Linked DNA regions of Homo sapiens: regions 1, 3 and 4 are each linked to region 2. Evidence: promoter capture Hi-C in 16 types of primary human blood cells and fetal thymus (Javierre and others, 2016). All regions are on one chromosome and are shown on one strand. The core of a region is centred on a gene start or on the middle of the fragment in contact, and the rest is flanking DNA. Distances in the headings are between cores, read along the strand shown.

Region 1 (3,301 bases), core at 44-2,543, 330 kb before region 2:
AGGCTGGCCTTGTCGCCCAGGCTGGACTGCAGTGGTGTAATCTCGGCTCACTGCAACCTCCGCCTCCTGGGTTCAAGTGATTCTCCTGCCTCAGCCTCCTAAGTAGCTGGGATTACAGGCACATGCCACCATGCCCAGCTAATTTTTTGTATCTTTAGTAGAGATGGGGTTTCACCATGTTGGCCAGGCTGGTCTTGATCTCCTGACCTCATGATCCACCAGCCTCAGCCTCTCGAAGTGCTGGGATTACAGGCGTGAGCCACAGCGCCTGGCCTTTGACCAAGATTTAGAAAGTAGTAAACAAAAAGTTCTGGTCTAGGCAGAGCGCTGTGGCTCACACCTGTAATCCCAGCTCTTTGGGAGGCTGAGGCCGGTGGATCACCTGAGGTCGGGAGTTCAACACCAGCCTGGCCAACATGGCGAAACTCTGTCTCTACTAAAAATACAAAAATTAGCTGGGCTTGGTGGCACGCTCCTGTAATCCCGCTACTTGGGAAGCTGAGGTGAGAGAATCGCTTGAACCAAGGAGGCAGAGTTTGCAGTGAGCCAAGATCATGCCACTGCACTCCAGCCTGGAGGACAGAGCGAAACTCTGTGTCAAAAAAAAAAAAGTTCTGCTCTAGAATTTCACTCTACACATACCTCTCAAAACCCTTTTCCACAAAGACATCTTTAAATAAAATAGGACTTCTACCTCAGAAGCCATTCACTTCCAAAACCCTAGTACAAATCTAAATTTTTTATACATAACCAAACAGAAGTTCACTGTGCCAACAAGTACCAGTCTCCGAGCTGCTGGCAAGGTGGTGCCACATCTGCCTGGTACTCTAGAACCTGCCCTCTCCTCCAGGGCTCAGAATGGATAATTAATCCATGGGGTACAGGGCAGCCTGTACAATACAGCTGTTCTCTTCAGGACCCACAACAAGGCCTGTCATAAAAACATAATTTGGTCCACTTACGGGAAATGTGAACTAAAGACAAAGCAACACTGCCAGTAATACATCATTGGAAGCTGCCAGGAGGAAGGGCTGGGGCCGCGGAGGGAGTCACTAAAGAGCAGAGCCTATGGGTAAGGTGACAAGGCAGGAAAGAGGCTCTGCGAAGTCCCCCATAGGGAGAGAGCCACAGCACAGACAGCTGCCCACACCCCCACCCACTCCGTAAGCGAAACTGAGTGTGTGAACCCTGAATACAACAGGCAGAGGTAGGGGAGGAAGTGTACGGCAGAAGAGAAATAGGCCCTGTGTGTTCGGTACTCAAAGTGCTTGACTTACTACCCAGGATACATGACCACCTGAGTAAGGCCCATCTGTGAGTGAGACTTGCAGTAAATACGCATTCTCCTAAATCACAAAAGCTCCCAGGCCGGGGAGTGGGGCCTGAAAACTAGCCTAGCCCTGATCTGAGGAGGAGCTCACCAAGGCCTGTACCCATGGGGTAACTGGTCCCCCTACAGAGACACTGTCTCCTAAACTGCCCACAGCCTTGCACCTAGACATGGCAAGGCTTATTTCCTGTGTCACTATGATGGGGAGAAATGAGTTCCCATTATTCCAGTCAAGAGAGCAGGCTAGAGGGCCCTTTACTGCTGTGTCCTATAACGAAAGATGTGGCATGACCTCTGCAAGGAGGGTAACAGTTCATGGAACCTTGGGAAAAGTTAAAGATATATGGAGGAAAAAAACATAAGGAGATTTGGTTTATTTCAGTATCTCCTGAGCCATGTCACCAAAGCTCACTGCAGCGATTTAGAGTTGCTTCTTTAGCACAGAATGACTCTCTGAACTTAGATTCAGAGTTAGGGTTACCAAATCCACAGTAACTCATAGAATGTACTGCTTTCTTACAAACAGAAGATATCTGAACACACTGAATTCAACCCTGCAGGGAGACATAAGGGTACCATGATTTGTTCAAGGAAGTACAGATTCAAACCGGCCCAATGAGTTTAACTAATGGCATGTGGAGACTACGAACATTCACTACTGTCCAGAATCCCGGATTCTGAAGTACTTTTGGGCTATTTAGCAGTTCAGTCACAATTTCAGAAGATACCCAAAAGTGAAGAAAAGTCATACTCTCAGTTTCTGTAACTTATTAGATGTGAAAACCTCCAGATGTATTTGACTTATCCAGCATCTGACCCTAACAGTGTGGTTCAAACTTCAAGAGCATCTGAATGAGACGAAATCAAATTATGGTCCCCCTCAACAATTTGCCATCCTAAAATTCTAGAGATAAATATATAAATCCCAGAACAATCTAAAAATCTGTAACTTTGTGACCAAATTCCAGGTAATACTGGAGTCCAACCAATTATGAAAACTTATTTTATTTTAATGGAATTAGCAGCTGGGTGCAGTGGATTACAATCATAATTCTAACACTTTGGGAGGCCGAGGCAGGAGGATCACTTGAGCCCAGGAGTTCAAGACCAGCCTGGGCAACACAGCAAGACCAGCTTTTAAAAATTTTTTAAAGTTTTAAAAATTAACCGGGTGTGGTGGTGCATGCCTGTGGTCCCAGCTACTCGGGAGGCAGAGGCAGGAGGATAGCTTGAGCCTGGGAGATTGAGGCTGCAGTGAGTCATGATCGGCCACTGCACTCCGGACCGGGTGACGGAGAAGACCCTGTCTCAAAAAGAATTTGTTTTAATAATAATAAAAATGGCAAATAGCACCAAACTCACATCTGCACAACTGTGCTTAAATATGACAATAAAATAAATAGGATTCGATAAACTACCTTTGGGCTGCTTTTGTATTACTGCTAAATAAAATCCAATTTTTGGAAGGTTATATTCCACCACTGTTAGCAACAGAGTTTCCATGACACTTTCTCAACCCCTCACGTGGGTTTCCGATCAGCTGGCTCTACACAAGAATCTGGACCGGGCGCAGTGGCTCATGCCTGTAATCCCAGCACTTTGGGAGGCCAGGGTGGATTACCTGAGCTCACGAGTTCGAGATCAGCCTGGCCAACATGGCAAAACCACATCTCTACTAATATACAAAAAAATTACCCAGGTGCGGTGATGCACACCTGTAGTCCCAGTTACTCAGGAGGCTGAGGCAGGAGAATCGCTTGAACCCAGGAGGCAGAGGTTGCAGTGAGCCGAGATCATACCATTACACTCCAGCCTGGGCAACAGAGCAAGATCAAAAAAAAAAAAAAAAAAAAAGCAAAACAACAACAACAAAAGAAATCTGAATGAGTAACCACACTAGTGTTAAACATCCAGAATGATCTAAAGTCTTTATCCTGTACCTTCTGAGGTTCCATGCCAAAGGAAAAGGAA
Region 2 (3,209 bases), core at 560-3,059:
CTCTGTCTCTCTGTTTCTGTCTCTCTCTGTCTCTCTGTATCTCTCTCTCTGTGTCACACTCCTCCCACCCAGTCTTTGCCTCATCAGCAACATTTCTGGAAGGCATTGCCTGCACAGCTCCCACTTCCTCCTGTCCAAACTGGCTCAACTCTGCCCCCTGATGCACACCCCCAACCTCCAACCCTGGGCTGCAAGGGTCCTCCCACCAGGCCTCCCCGTTCCAGCATCCCTGGTTTCCTTGCCTGCAGATTGGGCACCACTCTTTGAATTTTTTCCCATCATGTTTGTTTTTCAGATCATTTTAGGCCTTATTGACTTTTAAAAGAGGAGGAAAAAAACGTGAAACAAGTGAAGAATGAATAGGAAATATCTTTGACTCGATCAGATTACAATATTTGCCTTAGAACATTCTTATTTCTCTCCTTAAAAATATTAAGAAAAACTATCCAAACGACTTCTACCTAGTCACCCTGGACTAGGACATTGTCTAACAAGCCACCTTTAGGGTCATTTGACGCTGAAGGGAGGGAGTACTATTATATTTACCCATGACCAAAGCCCCTGCTAACCTGTGGAAGACTGAGGAGTGGCAAAGGATTTTTGTTTGGTAGAGATGCAAACGAATTCTGTCCAATAGAGAGGTCTGGTTTCACTGGGCTGTAGGGCATCAGCCAGATTCACATGAAATTTAGCAATCCCGTTTCAGTCATCTTTCACTGACTGCCATCCTCTTTGGAAATGGTGTACCATCCTCCTTGAGTTAAATATATCGATGTATTTAACTCAGGCCATTCCGTTTATTTCTAACATTTTGAAAAGGGAATTGTGGAGGAAGTCAGCTTTTTTTTTTTTTTTTTTTTTGAGACGGAGTCTTGCTCTGTCGCCCAGGCTAGAGTGCAGTGGCGTGATCTCGGCTCACTGCAACCTCCACCTCCTGGGTTCAAACGATTCTCCTGCCTCAGCCTCCCGAGTCGCTGGGATTACAGGCGCCCACCACCGCGCCCGGCTAATTTTTGTATTTTTTAGTAGAGATGGGGTTTCACCATCTTGGCCAGGCTGGTCTCGAACTCCTGACCTCATGATCCCCCCCCCCCCCCCCCCCGGCCTCCCAAAGTGCTGGGATTACAGGCATGAGCCACCGCGCCCGGCCAGAAGTCAGCTTTTACATAGTGTTCTGGTGAGGGATTAGAAATTAAGTGTTTTTGCAAAATAAAGTTCATTGTAAAAGACTCTAAGCGAACAATCCCTAACCCTTAAAATGTACCAGGCATTGGTCGGGCTGCTGTGAATGTTCCGGGAACTCGTCTCTCTCGGGGGCGAGCGCTATCACCGCCGGGCTCCAGCCTGTCTCCCAACCACCAACCTGCGCTGCTCTTTGTACCATTCAAAAGTGCCTTCAGAGGGTCTAGATTGAAGTACGGGGCAGGGCAGGCCTGAAGCACAACTGACGGCTCCGTTGAGAGCAGGCCCGCAGCTTCAGCTCCCCAGAGGGCGCCCCACCGCACCCCTCTGCACCCCTCTGCACCCCATTCATTGCCCAGGCTCCGCCCCCTGCCCAGGCCCCGCCCCTGTCCAGGCCCTGTCCCCGCCCTTCCCGGCCCAGACCCCGCCTCTCTCTGCCCTGCGCCCCGCCCAGGAGGCAGGATGCCCGCAGCGGCCGGGGGCCGAGCGCCGCCTGCTCAGCTCCACCCCATAGTCCAGCCTCGCCGACTCCGCCTCTTTTGACACTACGCCTGCGCAAACAGTCATCCCCCACGACCACGCCGTCGCCTTGTGCGCTTGCGCGCGTCCAGGCGCTCCCGTGAGGCAGTGCGAGGCGCGCGGGGCACGGAGGGCGGTGGCGGCGGGCTCCTGCGAGAAGCAAGCGGAACTTCCTGAGGTGACTGACGCGGGCCTCGGTTCTGGGCGCAGGGGTGTGGGGCTGGAGGAGTGGCCGCGATCCCCGTCTGCACCCAGGTGCCTCTTTTTTTTCCTGCGCTCCTGGGGGCTCCTTCCAGGTGCTCCAGCAGCTGCCCGGGGATCAGGGCCCGGTCCGCTGGGCGAGGAGCTGGGGCGGGGGCTGTGCGGGGCCTGTCACCCCCGTCTTCTGCAGCTCGGTGTCGACGGCGATTCGGTGGGCTTGTGCGTTTGTTTTGTCAGCGTGCTTAGGTGTCACAGCTGGGTGACCCTCCGAAGGAAGGTTTTGCCGCTGGCGCGTCTGGTGTATCGCGGCCTTGGGGCCGCGGATCCCTGGGGCTTGCCGCTGCCTCTGGGGTTCGCGCGGCCCTGGCGTCGGGGCTGCCTCAGCGCTGGCTGAAGGCCGGCCCGAAGCACCCTTAATTGTGGCCGCGCGCTTCCCTGCTGCTCCTGCTGTTCTCCGCGTCGCGGTGGTGGACTCTGGAGGTGGAGCCTTGCCCGGCGAGACGTTGAGGTAAATATTTAGTTGATCTTCAGAAGATGTGCCATGCTTATTTGCGTCTTCTTACGTACGGAGGGCAGGGAAGAGAGGCTGCCTAGCCTCCTGGTGGCTTGGGTTTGTTTGGATCCATTTATTTTGAATTAAAAACAAATGCTGCTCTATAAAGTGTAATGCATTTTAAACCATTTTATCTTTGGAAAAAAAGATAAAATGGATCCAAATAGATCCACTTTCTTGTTAATTACTTTTCGTTACTGTTGCGGTTTTCTGAGAACTAGCCTAATTGTTTCTGTTTCTCTTTATCATCATCAAACATTGCAGCTACGACTACCTGTCATTTATCCCGCTCTCGGATATCATGTGATATTTGTCTGTGTCTTCTTTTTAAAAACACTGTCGTCATATTTGTGGTCTAATACTTGTTTTCTTCCCCCCTAGGAGGAATCATTATAGATTCTAAAAATATATTTTCCCTTCTCTGTGGACTTGGTATAAAACGTAGCTTTTTTTCTGCTTGGATTTATTTTCTAAAAATCAACACCGTAAACCCATATCAGATACAACAAAATTGGGGTAGTTAAAACCATGAGTTGTGGAAATGAGTTTGTGGAAACATTAAAAAAAATTGGTTATCCCAAAGCTGATAATCTTAATGGAGAAGACTTTGACTGGTTGTTTGAGGGCGTTGAAGATGAATCGTTTCTGAAGTGGTTTTGTGGGAATGTGAATGAACAGAACGTGTTGTCTGAAAGAGAATTGGAAGCTTTTAGCATTCTTCAGAAATCAGGCAAGCCTATTCTAGAAGGGGCGG
Region 3 (3,033 bases), core at 334-2,833, 440 kb before region 2:
AGAGCAAAATGTATAGCTACAAACACATCAAAAAACAAGAAAGATCTCTATCAGCAACCTAACTAGGATAGGCGTGGTGGCTCATGCCTGTAATTCCAGCACCTTGGGAGGCTGAGGCAGGAGGACTGCTTGAGCCCAGGAGTTTGAGACCAACCTGGGCAACATGGTGAGACCTCCGTCCCTACGTAAATAAATACATAGACAGACAGATAGATAGCTGGGCATGGTGGCACACACCTGTAGTCCAAGCTACGAGACTATGGGTCAGGAGGATTGCTTGAGCCCAGGAGGTCGAGGTTGCAGTGACCCAAGATCGCACCACTACACTCCAGGCTGGGCAACTGAGTAAGCTTTGTCTCAATAACAACAACAAATAAAATGAAACAAAAAACCCTCCCTAACTTCACATCTTAATGAATTAGAAAAAGAACAATCTAAACCCAAAGCTAGCAGAAGAAAGGTAATTTAGAGCAGAGATTAATGATCAATGAAATAGAGAATAGAAAAACAATAGGGGAAAAAAAAAATCAATGAAACCAAAATATAGTTCTTTGAAAAGAGAAACAAAACTGACAAAACTTTAGTGAGATGGAGTAAGAAAAAAAAAAGACTCAAATTACTATAATCAGAAATGAAAGTGGGGACATTATTATTGATTACACAGAAATAAAAGGGGCTGGGAGTGGTGGCGCACACCTGTAATCATAGCTACTTGGGAGGCTAACACAGGAGAATCATTTGAGCTCAAGCGTTCGAGGCTCCAGTGAGCTATGATCGTGCTACTGCACTCCAGCCTGGGCAACAGAGCAAGCATATCTCTAAAAAGCAGAAAATTAAATTAAAATTAAGAAAAAAACATAAAAGGTATTATAAGAAAGTACTGGCTGGGCTCGGCGCTGTAGCTCACGCCTGTAATCCCAGCACTTTGGGAGGTCCAGGTGGGTGGATCACCTGAGGTCAGGGGTTCGAGACCAGCCTGACCAACATGGTGAAACCCCATCTCTACCAAAAATACAAAAATTAGCCGGGCATGGTGGTGGGCGCCTGTAATCCCAACTATATGGGAGGCTGAGGCAGGAGAATCTCTTGAACCTGGGAGGCAGAGGTTGCAGTGAGCCAAGATGGTGCCATTGCACTTCAGCCTAGGTGACAAAGCAAGACTCCGTCTCAAAAAAAAAAGTAAGTAAGTATTGGCTGGGCTTGGTAACTCATGCCTATAATCCCAGCACTTTGGGAGGCTGAGGTAGTAGGACTGCTTTAGCCCAGGAGTTTCAGTCCAGACTGGGTAACATAGTGAGACCCTGTCTTCTCTCTGGAAGAGTCCAAAACAATAAAAAAAAAATTAGCTGGGAGTGGTGGCACATGCCTGTAATCCCAGCTATTGGGGGGCCAAGGGAGGAGGAATGCTTGAGCCCAGGAGTTTGAGGCTGCAATGAGCTATGATCATGTCATTGTACTCCTGCCTGGGTGACAGAGTGAGATGCCGTTTCAAAGAAAAAAGAAAGTATTACGAACAACTGTACACCAACACACTGGATAAAACAGATGAAATGAAAAAATTTTTAGAAACACAAAACCTATCAAGACGAAATCATAAAGAAATAGAAAAGTCTGAACAGACCTGTAACTAGTAAGGAGATTGAACTGGTAATCAAAAACCACCCAATAGGCTGGGCGCAGTGGCTCACGCCTGTAATCCCAGCACTCTGGGAGGCCAAGATGGGTGGATAACCTGAGGTCAGGAGTTTGAGACCAGCCTGGCCAACATGGCAAAACCCCGTCTCTACTAAAAATACAAAAATTAGCTGGGTGTGGTGGCATGTGCCTGTAGTTCCAGTTACTTTGGAGGCTGAGGCCAGGGAATCGCTTAGAATCTGAGAGGCGGAGGTTGCAGTGAGTGGAGATTGTGCCACTGCATTCCAGCCTGGGTGACAGAGCAAGACTCCGTCTCAAAGAAAAAAAAAAAAATCACCCAATAAAGAAAAGCCCCAAACCTGATGGCTTCACTAGTCAATTCTACCAAATATTTAAAGAATTAATACCAATCTTTCTCAAAGTTTCCAAAAAACTGAAGAGGAGGGAACACTTTCTAACTCATGTCCTGAGCATATCCCCATACCAAAGCCAAAGACACTGTAAGAAAAACTACAGGGTCGGGCGCGGTGGCTCACACCTGTAATCCCAACACTTTGGGAGACCGAGGCGGGTGGATCACCTGAGGTCGGGAGTTCGAGACCAGCTGACCAACATGTAGAAACCCTGTCTCTACTAAAAATACAAAATTAGCCGGGCCTCGTGGTGCATGCCTGTAATCCCAGCTACTCTGGAGGCTGAGGCAGGAGAATCACATGAACCCGGGAGGCAGAGGTTGCAGTGAGCCAAGATCACACCACTGCACTCAGCCTGGGTAATGAGCAAAACTCTGTCTCAAAAAAAAAAAAAAAAAAAAAAAAGAAAGAAAACTACAAACGAGTATCGCTTGTGAACATTCATGCAAACATCCTCAACAAAATACTAGCAACCTGAATTCAGCAGCATATTAAAAGATTCATACACCATGACCAAGTGGGACTCATTCCCAGAATGCAAGGATAATTCTATGTATAAAAAGTAATCAATGTTAATATGCCACATTAACAGACTGGAAAAAGCCAAAGATCATCACAACTGGTGCAGAAAAAGCATGTGACAAATTCAACACCCATTCATTACAAAAACACCCAACAAACTAGGAATAGAAGGAAAACTACCAAAACATAATAAAAGCCATATATGAAAAACCCACAGCAAACAATGGTGAACGAATGAAAGCTTTTCCTTAAATAACAGGAACAAGGCAAGGATGCCTGCTTTCATCACTTCTCTTCAACACAGTATTAGAAATTTCAGCCGGAGCAAACAGGCAAGAAAAAGAAATAAAAGGCATCTAAACTGGAAAGGAAGAAGTAAAATTATCTCTGTTTGTAGATGATATGATTTTACAATGTAGAGAACTCCAAAGATTCCACAAAAACAGTCTGTTAGAATAGATGA
Region 4 (2,997 bases), core at 344-2,843, 300 kb before region 2:
TCGGCCTTCCAAAGTGCTGGGATCATGGCTATGGGCCACTGTGCCAACCTATATTCTTTATCTTGATATATTTATTACATAGGTGTACACATAGAAAAAATACTGAATCACAGACATGCTCTCTGCAGGTACACCATTTCTAAAGCGTGTATGGTAACCATTTAAACTTTTAAAAGTTAAAATTGTTAATTTTAGTTAAGACACAGGAAGTTCTACATTTTTCTTCAACCTATTTCCTCAGGTCACTAGGCAAATATGAACTAGAGTTAATGATAACCTAATTTCACCGTGGTCGCAATTTCTACAATACAGGGAAGGCTTCTAAGTGCACCCTCATGTACCCCAAAGATCCATAATAATCATACCAGCATGTTTATACAACGATCATACCATCAAAGCAGAGGATACGCTGTATGGTGGCTAATTTTTTGGTTTTTTTTTTTTTTTTTTTTTTTTTTGAGACAATGTCTCATTCTTTTGTGCAGGCTGAAGTGCAATGGTGTGATCTCTGCTCACTGCAACCTCAGCCCTGCACCCCCCACCCCGGGTTCAGGCGATTCTCATGTCTCAGCCTCCTGAGTAGCTGAGATTACAGGCGCTCGTCACCATGCCTGGCTAATTTTTGCATTTTTTAGTAGAGATGGGGTTTCTCCATGTTGGCCAGGCTGGTCTCAAACTCCTGACATCAAGTGATCTGCCCACCTCAGCCTCCCAAAGTGCTAAGATTACAGGCGTGAGCCACTATGCCCGGTCCCTATGGTGGCTAATTTTTATTTTAATTTTTTGTAGAGCAGTGGCGGGGAGGGTCTCTCCACGTCACCCAGGCTGATCTCAAACTCCTGGACTCAAGTGATCCTCCCACCCTGGCCTCCCTAAATGCTGGGATTATAGGTATGAGCTACCAAGCCTGTGGTGCCCTATCATTAAGAAACCCAAGGTAGTGGCCAAATGCAGTGGCTCACACCGTAATCCTAGCACTTTGAGAGGCCGAGGCGGGTACATCACGAGGTCAGGAGATCGAGACCATCCTGGCTAACATGATGAAACCCTGTCTCTACTAAAAATACAAAAAATAAGCTGGGCATAGTGGCACACACCAGTAGCCCCAGCGACCTGGGAGGCTGAGGCAGGAGAATCACTTGAACCCGGGAGGCGGAGGTTGCAGTGAGCCAAGATTGCGCCAGGGCACTCCAGCCTGGGTGACAGAGCGAGACTCCATTTAAAAAAAAAAAAGAAAAGAAAACTGAGGTAGCGCAAGGTTGATACCTTGCCCATGGAACAGAGCCTAACAAATTTGTGGTTCCCCAAGCTTTGTGTATAAGAATTCTGTTTTGAGTCAAAGACCCTATAAGCTAAGTTATGTTTTCCTACTTCTCCCATGGTCCTCCTCCTTTGTTGAAGCTACCCACATGCAGAAACACCCTCTTTGGCTCAGCAGCCACCTCGATGAAGGTGGTCCTGGGTATAACACATAGTGCTGTGTCCCGCACACAGGACAGTGGGACTGTGACCACTCCTGAAAATCAAGACAGTCCTTCCACTCGGCCTTCTCTCTTATCCACCTCCTGGCCTGGTGACTACGGAGTGTAGAGGCTGCTTGCCAGGACTCAGAAAGCCTCCCTGGGAACCATAGGGCCAGAAACCACTCACTGTTTCTGGTTGATACTGTTTTGGGTGCCATTTTGCACCATACAAGGTACTCCAAAAAGCTCACCATCTGTGGGGAAACAATTCAGAGGCTTCAGAATTACATTAAGACTTTCTGTGATCTGTGTCAAGAATATTTTACCCCAGTTACCATAAAGAGTTTCTTTAATGAACAATTATTAAAATACTTACAAAGAAACTTAAAAACTAAAGACAGCTTTAAAAGCTTAAAATATCGGCCAGGTGCAGTGGCTCACGCCTGTAATTCCAGCACTTTTGGAGGCCCAGGCAGGTAGATAGATCACTTGAGGTCAGGAGTTCGAGACCAGCTTGGCCAACAAGGTGAAACCCCGTCTCTACTAAAAATACAAAAAATGGCCGGGCGTGGTTGCTCACGCCTGTAATCCCAGCACTTTGGGAGGCCAAGGCATGTGGATCACAAGGTCAGGAGTTCTAGACCAACATGGTGAAGCCCCGTCTCTACTAAAAATACAAAAATTACCCAAGTGTGGTGGCACATGCCTGTAATCCCAGCTACTCAGGAGGCTGAGGCAAAAGAATCACTTGAACCCAGGAGGCGGAGGTTGCAGTGAGCTAAGATCACCCCACTGTACGCCAGCTGGGGTGACGCAGTGAGACTCTGTCTTGAAAAAAAAAAAAAAATTTGCCAGGTGTGGTGGTGCACTCCTGTAGTCTCAGCTACTCGGGAGGCTGAGGCAGGAGAATCACTTGAACTCAGGAGGAATCACTTGAACTCAGGAGGCAGAAGTTGCAGTGAGCCGAGATGGCGCCACTGCACTCCAGCCTGGGCGACAGAGCAAGACTCTGTCTCAAAAATAAAATAAAATACCATAAAAGATGGTGGCATATTTTAAAAGCTTAAAATACAGTAAAAGCAACTGTCAAGGTGCAGCACACAACTCAATAGTACACAATAGAGAGGCTGCAGTGGGTCACACCCGTAATCCCAGCACTTTGGGAGGCCAAGGTGGGTGGATTACAAGGTCAAGAAAGAGAAACCATCCTAGCCAACATGGTGAAACCCTGTCTCTACTAAAAATACAAAAATTAGCTGGGCGTGGTGGCACGCGCCTGTAGTCCCAGCTACTCAGGAGGCTGAGGCAGGAGAATCGCTTGAACCCAGGAGGTGGAGGTTGCAGTGAGTCAAGATCACGCCACTGCTCTCCAGCCTGGTGACAGAGCGAGACTCTGTCTCAAAAAAAAAAAAAAAAAAGTACACAATGAACTAATTCTGTGGACTATAACCCAGATTTTATTAATGAGATTACATGGAACAGAAAAGATCAGAAAAGTATTAAAATATTTTGTTTGTTTTTTGTTATTTTTTGA

The links. The method cuts DNA at HindIII sites, captures the fragments that hold promoters and counts their contacts. A CHiCAGO score of 5 or more calls a contact.
Region 1: a contact is called between a fragment that was not itself captured here and the fragment with the promoter of HAUS3 in region 2, in 1 of 17 cell types (M2 macrophages). The highest score is 9.4, in M2 macrophages.
Region 3: a fragment that was not itself captured here is called in contact with the fragment with the promoter of HAUS3 in region 2 in 1 of 17 cell types (M2 macrophages); the score reaches 5.5 in M2 macrophages.
Region 4: a contact is called between a fragment that was not itself captured here and the fragment with the promoter of HAUS3 in region 2, in 2 of 17 cell types (naive CD4 T cells and total CD8 T cells). The highest score is 5.8, in naive CD4 T cells.

What each region holds. Positions count from the first base shown.
Region 1 is chr4:2,568,857-2,572,157 of GRCh38, reverse strand. All of the region lies in intron 1 of FAM193A (family with sequence similarity 193 member A), which reads right to left. Among named protein-coding and RNA genes, the nearest start is that of FAM193A, 34 kb to the right of the region's middle. The HindIII fragment of the contact is 8,103 bases long and covers 1-3,301 here.
Region 2 is chr4:2,240,721-2,243,929 of GRCh38, reverse strand. It overlaps HAUS3 (HAUS augmin like complex subunit 3), which reads left to right and starts at 1,809. Exons shown (of 6, transcript NM_001303143.2): 1 at 1,809-1,879; 2 at 2,140-2,410; 3 at 2,837-3,209. The coding sequence starts at 2,984. It overlaps POLN (DNA polymerase nu), which reads left to right and starts at 1,809. Exons shown (of 26, transcript NM_181808.4): 1 at 1,809-1,879; 2 at 2,140-2,410. It also overlaps the pseudogene COX6B1P5. RefSeq lists a silencer at 1,379-1,738 and enhancers at 2,419-2,518, 2,125-2,626. The HindIII fragment of the contact is 3,838 bases long and covers 1-3,163 here.
Region 3 is chr4:2,678,796-2,681,828 of GRCh38, reverse strand. All of the region lies in intron 13 of FAM193A (family with sequence similarity 193 member A), which reads right to left. Among named protein-coding and RNA genes, the nearest start is that of TNIP2, 76 kb to the left of the region's middle. The HindIII fragment of the contact is 2,461 bases long and covers 353-2,813 here.
Region 4 is chr4:2,541,331-2,544,327 of GRCh38, reverse strand. All of the region lies in intron 1 of FAM193A (family with sequence similarity 193 member A), which reads right to left. Among named protein-coding and RNA genes, the nearest start is that of FAM193A, 6.2 kb to the right of the region's middle. The HindIII fragment of the contact is 564 bases long and covers 1,312-1,875 here.